2 separate regions of the Homo sapiens genome follow, and region 1 is linked to region 2. The links are contacts of gene promoters, found by promoter capture Hi-C in blood cells and fetal thymus (Javierre and others, 2016). All regions are on one chromosome and are shown on one strand. The core of a region is centred on a gene start or on the middle of the fragment in contact, and the rest is flanking DNA. Distances in the headings are between cores, read along the strand shown. Region 1 overlaps NTHL1 (nth like DNA glycosylase 1). Region 2 holds the start of RAB26 (RAB26, member RAS oncogene family).

What was found. Contacts are between HindIII fragments. The CHiCAGO score rates a contact against its expected background, and 5 or more counts as called.
Region 1: a fragment that was not itself captured here is called in contact with the fragment with the promoter of RAB26 in region 2 in 9 of 17 cell types (erythroblasts, megakaryocytes, naive CD4 T cells and 6 more); the score reaches 8.5 in erythroblasts.

The regions. Positions count from the first base shown.
Region 1 is chr16:2,039,935-2,043,674 of GRCh38, reverse strand. NTHL1 (nth like DNA glycosylase 1) reads left to right here. Exons shown (of 6, transcript NM_002528.7): 4 at 1-108; 5 at 3,437-3,542; 6 at 3,628-3,740. Among named protein-coding and RNA genes, the nearest start is that of NTHL1, 6.0 kb to the left of the region's middle. The HindIII fragment of the contact is 5,183 bases long and covers 1-3,740 here.
Region 2 is chr16:2,145,982-2,150,866 of GRCh38, reverse strand. RAB26 (RAB26, member RAS oncogene family) reads right to left here and starts at 2,242. Exons shown (of 9, transcript NM_014353.5): 1 at 1,889-2,242; 2 at 816-926. The coding sequence starts at 2,083. RefSeq lists enhancers at 484-1,035, 1,036-1,587, 1,588-2,139, 2,140-2,689, 2,690-3,241 and 2 more and silencers at 1,682-1,751, 1,772-1,901, 1,912-2,081, 2,172-2,261, 2,272-2,541 and 1 more. The HindIII fragment of the contact is 14,976 bases long and covers 1-4,885 here.

The sequences.
Region 1 (3,740 bases), core at 1-2,500, 110 kb after region 2:
GTGGGGACATCCCAGCCTCTGTGGCCGAGCTGGTGGCGCTGCCGGGTGTTGGGCCCAAGATGGCACACCTGGCTATGGCTGTGGCCTGGGGCACTGTGTCAGGCATTGGTGAGTAGAGGAGGGCGGGGCTGGCTCCAGCCCACTGGCTGCTCTTGGGATTCCCCACATCCTTGTGACCTGTGACTCCACTTCCAGCATGCTGGTCCTCCACCCAGCCCATAGAGTCAGAAAGGTGCTCCCAGGGTGGAGCCAGGCCAGCCCCACTCAGAGACAGGTGCTGGGGCAGGAGGTCACATGGGCTGAGCACCTGCTCCGTGCAGGGCTCTGAGAGAGGCCCCGGAGCTGGACTCCATCTGCGTTGTATTCGGGAGAAATGTGGAGCGAGGAATTCCCCACTCGTGGAGTGGAAACCCTGATGGTTGTGCAGGGTGCTCTTGGGGCCTGGCTTGGGCCCAGGGCCTCTGGGAAGGCCCCCAAGGTCATCCTTCACCTGAGAGCTGCAGAGCAAGGTGGGGTGAGCCAGGCCAAGAGGAGGAAGTGTGTTCCCAGCAGAAGGAACAGCATCTGTAAAACCATGATGCGAGAGAGAGGGCCAGGAGCAGGAAGTTCTGGAATGAGATGAGGGCAGAGTGGGGAGGTAAGGACTGAGGAGGGAGGAGGAAGAGTATCCCCTCAGCAGGTGGGGTGGGGAGGGAGGTGCTGGGGGGAGAAAGGGGGAGGGTGGGGAGGGAGGCTCTGCGGGGACAGGAGGGGAATGGTAGGGAGGGAGGCGCTGGGGGAATGGGGGAGGAGGGTGGGGAGGGAGGCGCTGGGAGGATGGGGGGAGGGTGGAGAGGGAGGTGCTGCGGGGAGAAGAGGGGAGGGTTGAGAGGGAGAAGAGGGGAGGGTGGGGAGGGAGGCACTGGGGGGAGGGCCCTCCTTGAATCCTTTTCCCAGGTCCTGGTGTCTCTTCCTAGCACCGGAGGCTTCTTGGCAGTTGGGTGCAGACAGACCCCTGGGTTTGGGGTGGGGCTGCCTCCTCCTCGGCTTTGTCCAGAGGATTTGGGGCTCCTAAGGCCACACGCAGCCGGGCCCAGCCAGTCCAGAAACCAGGGCTTGGCCCTGCCCTCTGTGTGCCCCCATCCCAGGCCCCTTTGGGACTCCTGCAGGGGGCCTGTGCCGGAGGCGGGGGGCTTGCAGCACTTTCTGGTGGGCAAGAGGGCCACCAAGGGCCGGGGGCCTCTATTCTGAGCCGGGGCCACCTGGTGAGGCTGAACAGCCACAGCAGCCCCAAAGAGCCAGAGCCAGGCCAGGTGCGCCGGGGCAGGGCCTCCTCCCGACTGAGACTCCCAGCGTCACCACCTGCCAGCCTCTCAGTGGACACTTGAGCTTATCTGGGCGGCTGTCCTCAGCTGCCCGTGTCCCTGGGGTGCTGCATCGTGGTTGGGCAGGGCTGTGGGGGAAGGTCCCTGCCCGCAGCCAGGCAGGGAACGGGCTTTGGGAGCAGCGGGCACAAGAGACAGCCATGTGGAAATACCTCCCTCTCCAGGTGTCTGTGGGCCTGACCACCTGCAAGGAGACCCCAGGGCTGCCTCCTAGGGGTTCCCCGAAAGAGAAACGCTCTCAGTTAAAATGTCAGAGCTGGCTGGGTACAAGGGCTCAAGCCTGTAATCCCAGCACTTTGGAAGGCCGAGGTATGTGGATCACCTGAGGTCAGGAGTTCAAGATCAGCCTGGCCAACGTGGTGAAACCCGCTCTCTACTAAAAATACAAAAATTAGCCGGGTGTGGCCAGGCGTGGTGGCTCACGCCTGTAATCCCAGCACTTTGGGAGGCCGAGGCAGGCAGATCACGAGGTCAGGAGATCAAGACCATCCAGGCTAAGATGGTGAAACCCCGTCTCTACTAAAAAACACAAAAAATTAGCCAGGCATTGTGTCAGGCGCCTGTTGTCCCAGCTACTCGGGAGGCTGAGGCAGGAGAATAGTGTGAACCTGGGAGGTGGGGCTTGCAGTGAGCTGAGATCGCGCCAGTGTACTCCAGCCTGGGCGACAAAGCGTGACTCCGTCTCACCAAAAAAAAAAAAATTAGCCGGGCGTGGTGGCAGGAGCCTGTAATTCCAGCTCCTCGGGAGGCTGAGGCAGGAGAATCGCTTGAAACCCAGAGGCGAAAGTTGCAGTGAGTGGAGATCGCACCATTGTCTGTATCCAGCCTGGGTGACAGAGCAAGACTCCGTTTAAAAAAAAAAAAAAATGCCACAGCCATAGATTGCTGGCTCCGGTCCCAGCTCTGCACCTCCTGGCTGGGTGACTCTGGGCCAGGCCCTTGGCTTCTCTAAGCTCTGGCCACAAAGTGGGTGAGGCAGTCCTCGTCATTCACTGTCCAGGTGGGCAGGAGGCTCACACAACGTGACGTGGCCTGACTCAGCCTTGAAGCATGGCCACTTCCGTGTTACAGAGGAGGAAACTGAGGCTCAGAGCCCCAGGGGTGTGACCCCTCAGGCCTTGTGGTCTCCCCACACCCTCGGACACCTTTTTCTAGGCAGCAGCGAAGGAGCTGGTGCAGGCCTCGGCTTTCTCTTTGGGAAACACGGGAGGAGGAGGCAGGGCTGGGGCTGCAGCTGGCCGGGGCCACCGGGTGGGAGAAGGGAGCCCCAGTGAGCAGACGCCTGGGGTGGCCAGCTGAGGGGAGCAGGAGCCAGAACCCAGGTGGACAGCAGCTGCGGCCGGCCAGGGCATGCTCCCGCTGTGTCCCTGACCGCTGCAGTGGCAGGTGCTAGGTCTGCAGGCAGTGACCTCATGCCGGCCTGCCAGGCAGAGCTGTTGCCACCCAGCCTGGTGCCCAGAGCCAGTGCTTATGCCGAGAGGAGCCTCAGGCCACAGGAGACAGACAGAGGGAAGCCTGGATGGACCCTTCCGGGGACAGGGCCACGTTCCTGGGGAGGCTGAGGGCTGAGAGGTGCTTCGGAGTCGGGATCCTGCCGGGCCTCGGTTTCAGCATCCGTAGGACCTCATGAGGACTCACTGAGCTGGCCAATCTCTCTGGCAGGGTCTGGCCCCCAGCAAGCGTTTGTCCAAGCGAGCTGTCGCTGTTATTGTGGGGAATAGAGCTCCAAGCAGAGCCGAGTCATCACCCCCAGGCCCTGCCCAAAGCAGAGACCCCACCACCCACACATCCAACTAGCACCAGTGTTGGGAGTGGGCAGCCCAGAACAGAGCCCCCCAGGCTGGCTCAGGTGATGGGAGAGAGGCCTGCACCCCAACAGAGGGCTCAGCCCCTGCCCCAGCACCTCAGGGGCAGCCAAGATGGTCACATGTAGGCTTGCAGCCAGGGCTTTGCGGTTCCAATGTCTAACTGGAGGGCCACGGGGGTGGTGGCAGACTCGCCTCTGGGCGGGGAGGGGCACGGGCTAGGCTGGTGGAGTGTGCCCCTGTTCACCCCGCTTGGCCTCCCAGCAGCAGTGGACACGCATGTGCACAGAATCGCCAACAGGCTGAGGTGGACCAAGAAGGCAACCAAGTCCCCAGAGGAGACCCGCGCCGCCCTGGAGGAGTGGCTGCCTAGGTATGAGTATGTGGGGGGCTTCCTAGGGAGAAGAGCTCACCCCGCCCGCCCTCTGTCAGCACTGACCCAGCCCCCACCCCCACAGGGAGCTGTGGCACGAGATCAATGGACTCTTGGTGGGCTTCGGCCAGCAGACCTGTCTGCCTGTGCACCCTCGCTGCCACGCCTGCCTCAACCAAGCCCTCTGCCCGGCCGCCC
Region 2 (4,885 bases), core at 993-3,492:
TGCTGTCAGAGTGCTTCTGGGTCTCCCGGGAACCAGGCAGGGCCATCTGCTGGGCTGGGGAGGACACCGCCTTCCCTGGCACCCTGAACGAGAGTGCGAACCAAATGGCCTCACCTCTTACCACCTGCCCGAGAGCCAAGAGGGAGGTGGGGAAGTGGGGACCAGACAGGACTGGCCTGCCCCCCTCGGGCACTTCAGTCGTCACTCCATCCCAGAGGACTTGAGGGGACTTGGAACCCCCAGACTGGAGGGAGCCCCTTTTCCTGTCCCTGGAACAGCCCTTCCTCCATCCTCCCTCTAACTGGCTCTAATTAAAGGGTGAGAAAAATGCAAATTTAAGATTTGCTGAGGACAAGCCGGCACCTCAGCACGAGGAATTCCAGCTGGTGGGGGTGGGGGTGGGCGCTCCTCACCCAAGAGCAGGGTCCTCTCCCCTAGGCAAGCCCTGGAAACCCTCGCTCAGGCTCTGCAGGGAGCATGTGCTTCTAGGGCCCAGTAAGGCCTCTGTACCGAGGCAGCACTGCTGGCCCCAAGTGGACGTGGCCCTTGACTTCCTCTGACCCACCACCCTGTAGGCAACAGTGTCCGCCTCCCCCAAGGCACAGGATATGGTCCCTCGGTAATGCCAGCCCCTGGCATAGGGCAACTAACTATGCTTGTCGGGTGCAGCCACCAGCCCAGGTGTTGGAAGGTCGAGGCAGGCAGCTTCTGGGGTCCAGGCCTCGAGCCTGTTGGTACCATGGGGATCAGAGAGAACTTGCTGCTCGGGTACCGGCGGGACTCTGATGTGGGGCCAGGCCAGGGCCTCCACTCACCCGGAAGTCAATGCCTACGGTGGAGATGAAGGTCCCCGCCAGGAAAGCACCATCCTTGAATCGCACCAGCAGACAGGTCTTCCCCACACCCGAGTCCCCCACCAGCATGACCTAGGACAAGCAGGAGGGTTGGGGGGAGTCTGGTCTGCCCTGAGCTGGCCTGGTCAGAAGGGGGCTGCAGGTGAGGAGCAGGAGTGGAGGGAGGCAGCCCAGGCCTGCAGGCTCAGCGGGGCCAGGGACCCCGATGGGCTGGACACCCAGCGTATGCCTCTGAAAGGCTGGGGCTGCTCTGTCCTTCTGCACAGTGGCCGTCTCAGTCAGCGGGGAGTGAGGGCAGCCACCTGCATCCCGGACCCTCCCTAACGTCCATACCCCCACACGGTGGACAGCATCTGGGAGGGGAGCAGGTGGGGTGGCAGCTGGGTACCTCCTAAGAGACTTGGGGAGGCCTCTGCCGGGGGCTTCTCCACATCCCAGTAGGGACATGACCCCAGCAAGGCTCGAGGAATTTGCCCCATTAGGATCAGATCTCGATCTGAAGAGGGACCTGGGCCAAGTCTGAGGTTGGGGGGAGGTGCAAGTGGGCAGCAGTCAGGCCTTCTCCCCGAAACCTGTGCTACCAAACCCAAAATGGTCCTCCCAGCCCCCTGCCAAGTCCACACAGCCTCTGCCTTGGTCTGGAGTCCCAGGGTTCCCCATCCATCTGGCAAACCTCTTCCCCCCAGCAAAAAAAAAAAAAAAAAAAAAAGGCCCACAGCCGCTGGGTTGAGGGAGGGCAGCATACGGGAAATGGTGAGACCCCGGGCGGGGGCCAGGGCACTGGGGCGCGGGACCCCTTGTGCCACCATGCCGCCTGGGGGGTGGGGGACAGGCCCTGCCAGCTGTTGGATACCCCAGACCTGGGATGGACAGCTGTGTGTGCACGATGCACCGTGCAAGCCCCACGGGGTTCCTCCCGCGTCGGCTCCGCGCCCTGGGGCCGCGGGCCCTGCACCCCCTGTCCGACCCCCAACCCTTGGCTCAGGCCGGGCGCCACCTGCTGCGCTGGCCTGGGGGGCGGGTGCCTGGCTCACCTTGAAGGCGACGTCGTAGAAGTCGACACCGCCGCCAAGCGAGGGCCGGCCGGGCTGCAAGGGCCCGTTGGGCGGCGCGTCGGGGCCGGAAAGCGCAGTCCCGGAGCGCGCCGGTCGGGCCCCGTTGGCGGTGGGCAGCGTGGAGGCAGCGGGGGTGCTGGCCCCTTTGCTCTTGGGGGTCTTCTTCCTGGACATGGCGGGCGGGCGCTCAGTGTGCTCCCGCTGCAGCCGCCGTGCCCTGGGCCGTCCCGCACCCCGCGCCCGCCGAGCCCGACCCGGACCCGAACCCTTCCCCTGGCGGCGGCGGCGGCGGCGGCGGCGGCGGCGGCATCATCCCGGGCGCCCGGCTCGCGCCCCGCCCCCGCCGCTCCACGGGCGCGCAGCCACTCAGGCCCGGCCTCCCGCCGCCGCCGCCAATGCCGTGCGTGGGGCGGGGACATGCAAATACACCCCCGCTCGGCGGGGGGTGGGGGGCGGTCAGGAGGTCCGGGCCCCGTCCCGCCCCCGATCACGACCCCTGCCCGTGGCTGCCTTGGGGCCAGGAGCCAGCTGTGGGGTGACAGGCCTGGGCCAGGAGTCACCCCGGGATCCTGAATCCCCTCTGCTGGCTGCACACCACCCCAGCTCGGTGACCCCCAAACTGGACCGCCAGACCTGGGAGGAAGGGGTGTCCTGAGATGTGGGTGCTGGGGCAGAGGGCCCGCATGGACGGGCACCGCGGGCTTCTGTCTCCTTAGCCCCAGATGCCTAGCGCTTGGCCCGGTGCCCTTCACTGCTCCATCCCCTCCAGGGTAGGCGGGTCCAGGAAGCTCCAGCCCTGGCTTGGCAAACACACCAGGCTGCTGGGGCAGGCGCCCTGGGCTCAGGTGACAGCTGGTCACCGGGAGGACACAGCGGGCGCTGCGATCTCCCCCACAGCTTCTGCCTGCTGTGCACGCCTGGGGATCTGCGGGAAGGAGGAAGTCGCTGTGGCAGCCAGCCCCCGGCCCCCTGAGGGTCCCCTCCCACGGGACTCTGCCCTCAGGGTCTGAAAGGTGGAAAGCAGAGGCCCCTGCCCAGGCTGTGTGGCTGGCCCCTTGTCCTTCTCCTCCAGGTTCGGACCTTCAGGTGGCCAGGGCCGATTCTCCAAATCCTAAGCTGGTCCCTGGCAGACCCACCTCCCCAACCTGGGCTGCACTGGAGCTCTGTCACCCCCTCTCACAGAGAAGATGGGACTGCAGTGGTCAGAGCTGGGGCACAGTGGTCCAGAGGGGTGGTGTCCTTGGCATGCAGGGGCTTCTTGGTGTTTCTTTGGGAGCTGGAGAGATGACCCAGCTGTCCCCGGAGACCTGACAGCTGTCACCAGGACCTTGGGCCCTTCAGAGACCTGAGCCCTCCCAGCTGGCAGTGCCCAGAGTCCAAACAATTGGCTGCCTCTCGGGTCAGAGGCCTGAGAAAACACAGATGGGGGGCACTGCCCAGCAGAGTGATTCCTCGAGAGGGCCTGGCAGAGGCCGTGGAAGCCTGCCCTACAGCAAGCACTGTTGTGTGCCAGGCACACGACCTCTTCAAAGTTATCCTGCAAGGTGGGTACTGCCCTCAGTGTCCAGATGGGGAAACCGAGGCCCAGAAAGGCAAGGAGCCTGTGCAAGGTCAGCAGGCTAGGAAGGGCAGAGCTAGGATTTGTTCCTGTGATCTCCAGCTCCAGAGAACATAAACCGTCCCATGGCAGAAATCCCTGTAGACTTAATCCCCAGGAACCTGGCAGAGCTGGGGGTCAAACCCGGAAGCCCTCTCAGAACCCTTCCTTGTCTCACTCCTCTGGCCCCCCAGCTCTTCCAGACCAACCCCCAGTGTGTGTGCACTGGGCCTGGGTAGAGGCATTTAGCTTCTGCAGCTGCAGCCCTGGGGACTCCAGGTGTCCACCCGCGCTACAAGGCCTCTTTCAGGATGGCTGGCCCAGGGTCTGAGCTGGGGGCCTCAGCAGCTGCTGTGCACTGGCCCCAGGGTCCTGGGCAGTGGACTCCCAGTCCAGTGGACCCCGTCCTGCCAGCTGCTGCTCAGGTACCCCCAGGGCGCGGGCAGCAGGAGGAGTTGGGTGCAAGTAGGGCATCCTGCAGGGGGAGGAGTGCGGATGGGGCCCCCAGGAAGAGAAGGAGGCAGGCGCGCTGGAGAAAGTGGGAGGCCAGGCGGGGAGGGGAGCCTTGAGAGAGCAGAGGAAACGGGCTTGCGCTGGCAACCTTTAAAATTAGGAGAGTTTACATAAAAATCCAAGTCTCTGGTTTCTCTTGAAAATGGGGAGCTCTGGGTGCCTGCATCACAGACCCCTCTCTTGGCTTCCAGCAGGCCTCGGAATCTTTGATCATTATGTCTCTTGGTTGCTGTGTTTGCCATCTGTTTCACCCTCTGGAGTGTAAGCTCTCCGGGCACAGGAAGCAGCTTGTCTTGGTCAACTGCTGTCCCCAGCAGCCAGCTCTGGGCCTCCATAAGCAGTTATTAAATTGGTGAAAGAGGTGTGGTGGCTCACGCCTGTAATCCCAGCACTTTGGGAGGCTGAGCAGGCAGATCACTTGAGGCCAGGAGTTTGAGACCAGCCTGGCCAACATGGTGAAACCCCGTCTCTACTAAAAATACAAAAATTAGCTGGGCCTGGTGGCATACGCCTGTAATCCCAGCTACTCGGGAGGCTGAGGCAGGAGAATCGCTTGACCCCAGGAGGAGGAGGTTGCAGTGAGCTGAGATTGTGCTGTTGCATTCCAGCCTGGGTGACAGAGCGAGACTCTGGGGAAAAAAAAAAGAAAGAAAAGAAAAGAGAAAGAAATGTGACTTAGAAACACAGGCCTCACTTCAGGAGGACATGTCCTTGCTAACAAAGATTTAAGGCAAGTGTGATCAGTAGTGAGGGCAAGGCTTCTGGGGGAGGGAGGGTTTGCACTGGGCTTTGAGGATTGAGCTAGAGTCCGACACGAGAGAGAAAGACAGTCCCCAGGTGGAGGGAGTCAATATGCATAGGCTGAG